Regions from separate parts of the Homo sapiens genome. Here region 2 is linked to region 1. The links are contacts of gene promoters, found by promoter capture Hi-C in blood cells and fetal thymus (Javierre and others, 2016). All regions are on one chromosome and are shown on one strand. The core of a region is centred on a gene start or on the middle of the fragment in contact, and the rest is flanking DNA. Distances in the headings are between cores, read along the strand shown. Region 1 holds the start of KCNB1 (potassium voltage-gated channel subfamily B member 1). Region 2 overlaps LOC105372649 (a long non-coding RNA gene).

Region 1 (5,616 bases), core at 134-2,633:
GTAGGCCCGGCTCAGCCCGGCCCCGGGACCGCCGCTGCCCACGGGCGGGGGCGCCCGGGCGGCCGGGACGATGCGCGGTCCCTGGCCCCAGGAGGCGGCCGCCCTGGGGGTGAGTGTTGGGGCGTACGGCCTTCCGTGGGGGTGCATGGGGACACGGACAGGGGGTTTGCCTGCCGCAGCTCGGCCTGTTGGTCTGCTCGGGCTCCGCAGCTCCAGGCTGGAGGGGAGCGGGGTGGGAGGCAGGCAAGGGCTGAGGCCTGAGGGGACGCGCAATCCCCATTCTGGGGCTAAGGCGTGAGCCCTACATGCAGGGGGTGCTCAGGGGAACCCCCCGAAATCACTAGTGCGCGGTAGGAGGATGGCACCTTTTGAAAAGGCCAGAAAATTTAGCTCATTTCCCCGCCTCCCACCTCCCCCACCCCTTCCCTTCCAAGCCCGGGGAAAGGCGCAGAACCCGGAGTTATAAAAAGCCATCGCGGGAGAGGAACGAGGAGGAGGAGTAGGAGGAGGAGGAGGAGGAGGAGGAAGAGGAGGAGGAGGGGGAGAAGGAAGAGGAGGGGGAGGAGAAGGAGGAGAAGGGGGCGGGGAAGGAGCGAGGGGAGGACGGAGCAGGCGGATCCCGAGGACTCTGCCCGCCCCTCCTGCGGTAGGGTTGGGGGCTCAGAGGGAGAGGCGAGAGCGGGCTTTTCCTCCTCGCGGCTCACCTTGTCGCTGGAGCAATCTCAGGAGATGCTCCAGTGTTTGGGAAGAGGGGTCGCTCCAGGACAGAGGGGCTGTTGTGCACACCCCGTCTGTTGTGACCTCGGACAGGTGGGCACCTGGAACCCCCGGAATTCCCCCAAATCTTTTAAGATTTGGAAAAAAGCCCGCTGCCATTCCCCCACCCCCAAAATCTTGATTATCTCGAGAAGGGGAAGGAAAAGAAGAGAACTCGTTAAAAAAAAAAAAAAGAAGGAAAGAAGAAGAAGAAAGAAAGAAAAAGATAAAGAAAGAAAGTTTTCATGCAGCTCCCCCTCTCTCCCCATGGCGGGGCCAGGTTCGGGACTCGATCGGGAGACCCATAATGAAGAGAGTTTCAGCACTCTAAGGGGCGGACAGCGCCCCGGGCGGCTGGGTCGCGCCTGGGCCGCAGAAGCCCAGGGTGGGGCCTCCCGGGCTCCAGGGGCATCTCTTGGGGCCCTCTCCCCGCCCCGAGGGGCGGCCCCTCCCTCCATCCATGGGGTGCGGCGGACTTCAGCACCGGCGGGAGGGACAGCGACCATCCGTCCTACCCCACTGAGCCGCTTAAGCGCGGGGGAAGGTCAAGGCCGGCTGGGAGCCTGGTGGAGAGGTGGGGGGCGGGGGGACAGCATGCCCAGCTCCCCGTTTGCTGACCCGCGTCCGCTTTCGCTTTCTGCCTCGCAGCCGTCGGGATGGAGGTGAGAAGACGGCCGTGACGCGCGCCCGCGGGGCCCCCTGCACCCCCAGCAGCCCACAGCGCTCCCTGCCCCCCTCCCCCGCAGCAGCGGGCCTTGCCGTCGAGTGACAGCGGCCTGGGGGGGCAGGGGGGGCGGGGGCGGCCGGATCAGCGATGCCGGCGGGCATGACGAAGCATGGCTCCCGCTCCACCAGCTCGCTGCCGCCCGAGCCCATGGAGATCGTGCGCAGCAAGGCGTGCTCTCGGCGGGTCCGCCTCAACGTCGGGGGGCTGGCGCACGAGGTACTCTGGCGTACCCTGGACCGCCTGCCCCGCACGCGGCTGGGCAAGCTCCGCGACTGCAACACGCACGACTCGCTGCTCGAGGTGTGCGATGACTACAGCCTCGACGACAACGAGTACTTCTTTGACCGCCACCCGGGCGCCTTCACCTCCATCCTCAACTTCTACCGCACTGGGCGACTGCACATGATGGAGGAGATGTGCGCGCTCAGCTTCAGCCAAGAGCTCGACTACTGGGGCATCGACGAGATCTACCTGGAGTCCTGCTGCCAGGCCCGCTACCACCAGAAGAAAGAGCAGATGAACGAGGAGCTCAAGCGTGAGGCCGAGACCCTACGGGAGCGGGAAGGCGAGGAGTTCGATAACACGTGCTGCGCAGAGAAGAGGAAAAAACTCTGGGACCTACTGGAGAAGCCCAATTCCTCTGTGGCTGCCAAGGTGAGTCTGGGATCTGGGGGCTGCTGGTCTGGGGGGATCTGCTTGCATCCCCATATTGAGGACCACTGCTGGAGGACTCTGGCTTTGTTCCCAACGATGAAGATTAGTAATGGGGAGGGGCTAGGACTGAGTCCCCAGAGGTGAGGACCAACCCCCTCAGACTTTTCCCATGTGGCACTGGTCACTCCATCTTTTTATTATCCAAGACGTTATACCCCTACTTGGTTGGAGAGGTTTCACAGGGACCCATAAAAAGCCACAGCAAGAAGATGGACACTGACGAATAAGAGAGAGAGCACAGAGAGACAACAGTGGCTTGCTGGGGTGGAGTAGGGTTTGCTTCCCTGTGAAGTCCCAGACCTAGGCTGGATTGGATCACCCTGTGATTTTAATATCTCCATATTTATAACCTCACTCTGCCCCAGCAAGGGAAAAAAGCAGCTTACAGACATGCTTACAGGACATTGAGATACTGTCAGATAGTTTAAACATAAGTAAGAAGGGACCCCGAGGGGTGGGTGTGGACCCACACGACACATGCAGTTGGTTGTGGATGCTTGCGGGTGAGGGGTCACCCCCTGGTTACTTATTTATTTGGTGAGTTTATTTCCAGAATGGTTTGGTGCAGCTTGTAAAGATGTTTCAGCTCTTGGAACAAGATGTAAATTTCAAAATAGGAGAGAAAAATGAGGCAATGTGAAAAATAAAGGAGGAGGAGGAGGAGGAGGCAGGAATGAGTTTGAACACAAAGAGTGGGCCAGAGAGTCTTTGGTGCTGCTGGGTAATGGCAGGGGCTGTAGGGGACTGAGGAAGGCTTGGGGTGGGAGCCAAGGCAGGGCAGGAGGGCACTGGTTGATCAGCAACTTCTCTACGTCAGGCTGGGATTTGGGGTTGCCTGGGAAAGATGGGGCCTGTCTTCATGTGCCCGAAGTGCTGGGTGCTGGGAGCAAATGACAAAACAGTGTGTGCAAGGCTATAAAAGAGGTTCTGTGAGGTTCACGGAGAACCCAGAAAAGAGAGATGTTGATGTTGAAATCCAGCAAGACCAACTTGGGAAACATGGGGAGAATGTAACTGAGTGTGGGGCCTAAAAAAAGGGGTCAGGTAAGTAGATTTGTGGTAAAAGAAAGAGGAGAGGAGGAAGCCTAAATATCCAGCCATATCTTACTAGCTAGGGCTGACTCCTGTCCAGCCCAGCCTTTCATTGTGGGGTCTCCGGCTCAGTTCTCACTGAAGGCCCACCTGCAGGTCCCAGTCTGAAGGGAGACTCCGTGGGGTCCTTCCTCCAGATCTAGCCACCCAAGGAGAGGCCCCTGAGAGTGGATGGAGAAGGGGTGGCTGGTAAGAGGGTGGAGGGAGCCCCCACGTGTTTTTTTCGTTTCCCTGTTGGCCCTAACAAGGATGTAGAGGCTCCTGGGCCTGGCTTCCTCCTCTGAGGCTGTGGGCTGTCTCTCTCCATAATCCCGCCCCCAATTTTGTGTCCAAAAAGCCTCCTCCTAAGACAGAGTCACTCACCCTTAATCAGCTTAGGATCAACAGACTTATTTTGCTATTTCCAGGCATGACACAGGTTCTCCCACTGCACATCCCATTTAGGCCCAAATGTGACTCTCCCTCCCTGTCCCATCCCTAAGACATGAGAACAAGGTACAGGGAACTGGACAATTTGCCCTCCCAGAGAAGAAGCAGGCACAGGGCCATGTTTTGGTCTGGCAGCAAGACCCAAGCACCGGGGCTTGCAAGAGGTGCTGTTTGGGAATAAAGAACCTCTCCTCTCCCTTGGGTTAATCCGCTAGCAGGGACAGCCTTGTGACCTCTCCATGATCCCAGTCTGGGGCTGCCAGCTCACATTCCTGGCAGATGGACCATCTAGGATTTTCTGTAGCCAGAGCTGAAATGGGGAGGGAGGCAGGCTCACTGGCCCTCAGAATAGAAATCCTGGCTGCCAATGATCAAACACCTACTGTGTATGGAGTGTAACAACGCAGCTCTGTTATTATCCCACCTTTCGCAAACAGTGAGGCTGAAAGAGGTTAAGTAACTTGCCTAAGGTCACACCACAGGCAGTCAGGAGTAGCCAGAAATCCAAACCGAGTGTTCTTTCTATAATGATCAAGTGCCGCAGCCTCCTCCCCAGTCTCCCGGCTTCCACTTTTGCCCCTGCAATCCATTCCCCACATAGCAGCCAAAGTGAGCTTTTCAAAATGTAAATTGGATCACATTATTCATCTGCTTAAAATCCTCCAGAAGTTTCCCATCACACTCAAAATAAAATTCAGACTTTTCATCCTGGCATACAAGGCCCAGGCAGAATCTGGCCCCCATGACCTCTCTGGGCTCATCTCTTTTGATCTCCTCTGGTTCACTTGGCTCCAGCCCCACTGGCCTTGCTGTTCCATAAACAGGCCAGAGTTTATCTGACCTCAGGACCCTTGCACTTGCTGTTTCCGCTGCCTGGAATGCTCTTCCCCAGATTCCCCCTTGGCCAGCCCCTTCTCCCCCTTCCTCATTTGAGCAGGTCCCTGCTCACATGTCCCCTCCTCATACAGACCTTCCTTGACCGCTGTTCTAAACAGTTTCCCTCCCCTCACTCTCTGTTGCATCATGCAATGCCTTTCCTGCAGAGGCCTTAAACGCCATCTGAAATTATATTTCCTTCTTTGTGTGTCTCTGTTTCACACCCACAAGAATGTGAGTACCATGAGTTGATTCACTGCTTGATTCCCAGCACCCATGATGGTGCCTGGCACTGAGGAGCATGTGGAATGAATAAATGAATGAATGAACGAATGAATGAATGAACGAATGAATGAATCAAGCAAGCAAGCAAGCAGTCAGTCACTGTGTCTCAGGGTTTGGGGACCTGTCACCCCTTCTCACTGCCCACCTGCAACCCAGGTCCCTGTGCCTCTGGCCTCCTTTGAGTCATCTGCACCTTGCCCATCCCATCCCCACCCATCCCCCCAGCTTGGATGCCTTGCTTGTCAAAACAAGCAAAGCCTGTGGAAATTGCTTAGAACTCACAGAGTGACAGGACCAAATGGAGGATCATTTCTAGGTGATTGTAAGATACAAAAGTGGCCATATCTCATATGCTGAAGAGCAAGGATGGATCTGGTTCTGTGCCACTCCCCACTTCCATAGCTTTTAGCTAATTTCTCCAACTTTCCAAGTCCCAACCTTCCACCTGTAAAATGGAGATAAAAGGCTCACCTTACAGGGTCTTCATTAAATCACATTTGTCAAAATTTTGCTCAAAGCCTAGCACATAGCAGGTGGGGATTGTTGTTATAAATGCTAAGGAAAAGAGTCTTTTTTCTAGGGCTGGGTGGGCCGAGTTGCTGCAAACCCTTTCCTTCTGAGAGCAGCAGGGCCAGGGAGACTGAGCTGACACTGTTAATAATTGATGGGATGTTCTGGCAACTCGGAGACAAACCAAAGCACAGGCCCTAGGCTTTGCCATCAGGGGAGCGAAAATC
Region 2 (5,329 bases), core at 2,525-5,024, 130 kb after region 1:
ATCACATTTCTTTATTTCCTTAAAACAACCTAATTTCCAAGGACCTGCTGAGCTGGAGATAATGTAAGCTCAGCCCTTCTTGGGGCAGAGGAGCCTGGATCTCACCTGGCATCAAGACAAGGATGGTGGAGGGGGCAGGCACTTCTAGTTATCCATTATCTAGCCACGTTAGTGACTTTGGAGATGTGCCTTGTTCCAGGCATGTAGAATCCTCAGAGCCAAGTAAAGGGAGGAGCCGAAACCTGAGCGCTACATTACTCCAGTAAGTCCAGGGTGTTGGTCCTCAAAGCATTAAAGAGAACCTCAAAATTGCAAGCATGAAACTCCCCAACAGTGATGGATGGTGCTGCCTCTCACTGGAATAATATGCATTACTTAAAATTTTAACTGTGGACAGCATGGAGATATTAAAAGTTCTTAAGCTATAATGTAAAGTTAAAAATAAATACATTCTAGACACAACTAAGGTACTGCATCTTTCAGGAGGCTTTGCTCATCTTTTCTCCTATCAAAAGCTATTAGGTTGTGAAAAGCAATTGCAGTTCTTGCCATCACTTTCAATGGCAAGAACCACAATTACTTTTGCACCAGCCTAATAGGTCAGGTGCTTTTTCTGGGCTCCCACAGCCTTCAGAGCCTCCCCCATCACAGGTTTCACAGCACAAGGCTTTAACTCCCAGTGGCTTCAGTGAGCTTGTTAAACCAGCAGAGTGGGGAGCCGGATGGCCTGGCCACAATCTTGGCTCCTCTGTTTTCTAACTGTATGGCCTTGAGCAAGCTATTTCACCTCTCTGTGCCTCATGAACTGGTACAAATAATAGTTCCAAGGGCTGTAGTTAGGATTAAATGTGATGTCTCTTTGTAAAATCCTTGTCACACTCAATAAATGTTCGTTACTATGGTGTTTTCCTCTCTGCGCCAGACCACGAGTTCCATGCAGCCAACAATCTTGTCTTGTTTTTGTTTTTTTTTTAATTGAGACAGAGTCTCACTGTGTTGCCTAGGCTGGAGTGCAGTGGCACGATCTCGGCTCACTGTAACCTTCACCTCCCAGGTTCAAGCAATTCTTGTGCCTCAGCCTCCTCAGTAGCTGGGATTACAGGCACATGCCACCACACCTGGCTAATTTTTCCATCCTTAGTAGAGACAGGGTTTCACCATGTTGGCCAGGCTGGTCTCAAACTCCTGACCTCAAGTGATCCACCCGCCTTGGCCTCCCAAATTGCTGCGATTACAGGCGTGAGCCACCGTGCCCTGCCTCTTGTCTTTTTCTTAGCTGTGTTCCCAGCACCCAGAATAGAGCCTGGCACCAGGAAGGCACTCAGAAAGGGTTTGCTGAATGAGTGCAGGCATTCATTCCACAAATATTTATTAAGGTGCTTAAGAAATCTGTCTCTCTGAGCCAGATCCTAGGGGGACAAAGCTGAAGGAGACACGTAGTCTGTGCTCTAATGGGGTTTATACTCTCATGGGAAAGACAGCCAATAAATAAATAGGCAAATAAGTAAACAAGAAAATACAAACTATTGCTCAGTGTGATGGAGAAAATGAAATGGGTGTGATACAGAGTAACTGGAGAGTGTTTCTCCAGATGGGCAATCAAGGAAGGCCTCCCTGAGGTGCTGTCTGTGAGACAAGCCATGGAAGGAGCTAGCCACGGGATGAGCTAGGAGAACAACCTTTCAGGCAGAGAGCACGGCAAGTGCAAAGGCCCTGAGGCAGGAATGCTCTCAGGAGGCCAGCCAGACTGAAGAAGGATGAGGGAGGAGAGTGGTGGGCAGGAGCAGGGAGGTTAGCAGGGGTCCATCACGCAGCCCCTTGTCAAGCAGGATAAGCAGACTGGAGTTCCCTCTGAGAGAGTGAGCAGCCATTGGGAAGTTTCAGTGGGGGAGGGGTGACAACACCGCCCTTGCATCCAGGAGCTCCCCACACAACGAGAACAGTCCCAGCCTAAATCTGGAGGCATCTGCTTCTCAAGGCAGTGTCTGAGCTCAGCCTGGATGGCTGGGCCTAGGAGCTGCTGCCATCCATCCTTGTCTCTGCCACGTCTCAAGTCAGGCTCGAGTCCCCATTAATATAAATGAGGCCCTTTGCTGACTCGATTTCCAAATGAGTCCAGACATTCAAGCTCTCTATTCCAGGAAATGTGAAATTTATGTAACGAAAATTAAAAGAGAAAGCGGGGAAGCGCCTCCTTAAGTGCCTGCTTCCCGGGTAAGCGAGCCAGTTCTGTGTGTCTGGCAGAAGATGGATGAAGGTGCCATCAAGGGCTGCTGGGAGCCTGTGGCCATCAGGGAGGATGGGAGCAGGGTGGCCGGGGAGCCCCCTGGGTCCCCTTTCTTCCCTCAAAGAGGGAGCCATGGTAGGAATGGAAAACCAACATTATGTTCTCACTCATAAGTGGGAGCTAAGCTATGAGGATGCAAAGGCATAAGAATGATACAATGAACTTTGGGAACTTGCGGGGCAAGGTGGGAAGTGGGTGAGGGATGGAAAGCTATAAATTGGGTTCAGTGTATACTGCTCTGGTGAAGTGTATACCACTCGGGTGATGGGTGCACCAACATTTCACAAATCACCACTAAAGATGTAACCAAATACCACCTACTCCCCAAAAACCTATGAAATTTAAAAAAAAATTTTCTAAAAAAAAAAAAAGAGAGCCATGGTAATAATAGTTTATGTTCATTGCTGCATGTCTAGCCCTGTTCTGAGTACTTTACTTTCATGGATCATCTCACGACAGCATGATGGGGTAAGCACTACCATTTTTCCAGATGGGAAACTGAGGCTCATATTAGAGAAATGACTTGATCAAGGTCACAGAGCAAAACAGTGGCCATAACAGGACTCGGGTCTATGTCACTAATACTCACACAAACCCTCTTGTCCAGAGGTCAGACCATGTGGAATGGCAGAACGGCTCAGGAGTAGAGACCTGGGCTTGAATTCAAGCTCCAACTACCAACCTGCTGTGACCTTGGATAAGTCACCTCCCTCCCTGAGGATCAGTTCTTGTACAATCAGAGCCCCTTCCCCATGGGATTCATCTCTGAATTAAAGGAGATAATGTACAAAGATGCCAAGCACAGGATTTCAGCTTCCCTCTCAAACTGGCTTTTAAAAAGAAAAACAAGTATAAACTCACAGAATTGAAAAATCTTAGGGTAACTGACTTCAGGTGTGGCTGGATCCAGGGGCTTTAAAGATGTCATAAGGGATGAGTTTTTCCTCTCTCTCTCTCTCTCCATGTAGTAGACTCTCACTGGGAATTCCAGGGTTACAGAATTCTCACAGCTAGAAATCCTGATGAAAAGAGAGCTCTTTTTCCCAACAGGGCAGCAAAAATCCCAGGATTCACTCTGATTGAACCAACTTGGGTTAGATACTCGTCCTATAACTAATCTCTGGAGCAAAAGGGATGGAGTATGCTGATTGGGTCGCCTGGATCACACCCCCACCCCTGGAGTCTGAGGGAGGGGTACAGAAAGCCCAGGTGAAACCACTTGGACAGTAAAGGGAAGAGGCTAGGTTCCCTAAAGGAAAACTGGGGTGCTTTTACCAGAAAAATCAGGAGTGGCTGCCAGACCAGCACAAATGCCAGCTTATACTCTTGGCACATAGTAGGCCCTAAGCAAATGTCTGTTCAATGGAATGAGCAAATATCTACCCCCAGAGATGGTGGTAAGGATAAAATAAAATAATGTATGCAGAGTCCCTGGCGCACAGTCAGCACTCAATAAATCTTGTTTTAAAGGAACAAAATGTGTTCAGATTAGGTTTGGATTCTAGTCATGTGCTGATGAGCCCAGATGCTGGAAGGAGCCAGAAGGAGAGGCTTCCCTTGCCTCATCCCTGCCTCCCGCACATTCATTGCCCAACTCCAAGGCAGGGCGAGGACCAGCATTAAGAGAGTGAGGCACTTGCCTCTGATGCAAATGTAAGATGCACCCAAAAACTGAGTAATCAAGAGAAATAATATCTTAATGCAATATTTTTTAAAAATCAATACTGAAGCAAAAGTCCATGAGGAATGAAATATCAACATCTTAAAGACATTCATATATACATATTTGCATATCGTTATATTTAAATATCCGGACACATACACGTGTGAACATTTTCACAGACATTTTACATTGATTTCCTTATATATATGCTCGGGGCCACTGCGCTGCACTACACCAGGGGGTCCCATTTCATGGCAATCAGTGTGAATGTCACTCCCTGAATTGTTCAGGCACAGCCTCTGTGACTGAACACAGCAGCTCTGTACATGAACAAACATGTATGTGCATTGCCACCCATGTGGACAGGCATAACCACCTATATGCCACCAATGTGTGCCACATAACATCACACACACAGACTTGCCAAGAGATATGACTACATGATACAGTCACATACATGCTCATGCTCCTGCCTCAGGGCCTTTGCGCTTACTGTTCCCTCTGCCTGGAATGCTCTTGCAAATAACCTGTGACTCCCTCTTTTACCTTCTTCAAGTTGTACTCAAAGGTTACTCTCTCAGTGAGGCCTTCCCTGACACACTCACATCCCCATGCATCAATTTTTCTAAAATTGCAACAGCTCCCCTGCAGTTGGAATCCTCCAGCCCTGCTTTCTTTTTCTTCTTATTGTCATCTGATATAATATCTATTTTCCTTTTTGTCATATTTAATGTCTATCTATCCCTACTAGAATGTTAGCTCTACTCTGCCAGGGATTTTTGTTTGCTTTGTTCACTGCTGTGGTCTCAGCCTCTAGAACAATACGTGGCATGCAGTAGGTGCTCAATAAGTATTTGTTGAATGAATGACAAAAGCCAGGGAAGTAGGGATCCCTGAGGATGATTGAGACCAAATTTCCCACTACCCCAGCAAGAAGACAACCTAGAGTCAGATGTAGATTGATGTCAAGAATTAAGGCACAATGCAAGGTGCATTGTAAGTGCCGTGAGACTATTATCTCATTTAATCCTCATAACAGTCCTATGAGGTACTACTGTCCACCTTATTTTACATTAGAGGGAACTAAGGCACCGAGAGATTAACTCACTTGCCCAAAATGCCACGGCACAGAAGAGGCAAAGCTGAGATTCAGACCCAGGCAGCTTGGCTCCACACAGCCCAGACACTACACACACACACACACACACACACACACACACACACACACACACACTTAGGTAGCATCACCAGGCCCTCCCAGCCTTCAAGCAACTCTCAGAAATGAGAACTCCCAGCCGGGCATGGTGGCTAATACCTGTAATCCCAGCACTTTGGGAGGCTGAGTTAGTCAGATCACTTGAGGTCAAGAGTTCCAGACC

Evidence for each region. The method cuts DNA at HindIII sites, captures the fragments that hold promoters and counts their contacts. A CHiCAGO score of 5 or more calls a contact.
Region 2: a fragment that was not itself captured here is called in contact with the fragment with the promoter of KCNB1 in region 1 in 6 of 17 cell types (M2 macrophages, endothelial precursors, M1 macrophages and 3 more); the score reaches 12.4 in M2 macrophages.

Annotation. Positions count from the first base shown.
Region 1 is chr20:49,478,435-49,484,050 of GRCh38, reverse strand. It overlaps KCNB1 (potassium voltage-gated channel subfamily B member 1), which reads left to right and starts at 1,383. Exons shown (of 2, transcript NM_004975.4): 1 at 1,383-2,137. The coding sequence starts at 1,571. The HindIII fragment of the contact is 15,223 bases long and covers 1-5,616 here.
Region 2 is chr20:49,348,379-49,353,707 of GRCh38, reverse strand. The region is part of intron 2 of LOC105372649 (a long non-coding RNA gene); the gene reads right to left. Among named protein-coding and RNA genes, the nearest start is that of SNORD12, 70 kb to the right of the region's middle. The HindIII fragment of the contact is 8,591 bases long and covers 1-5,329 here.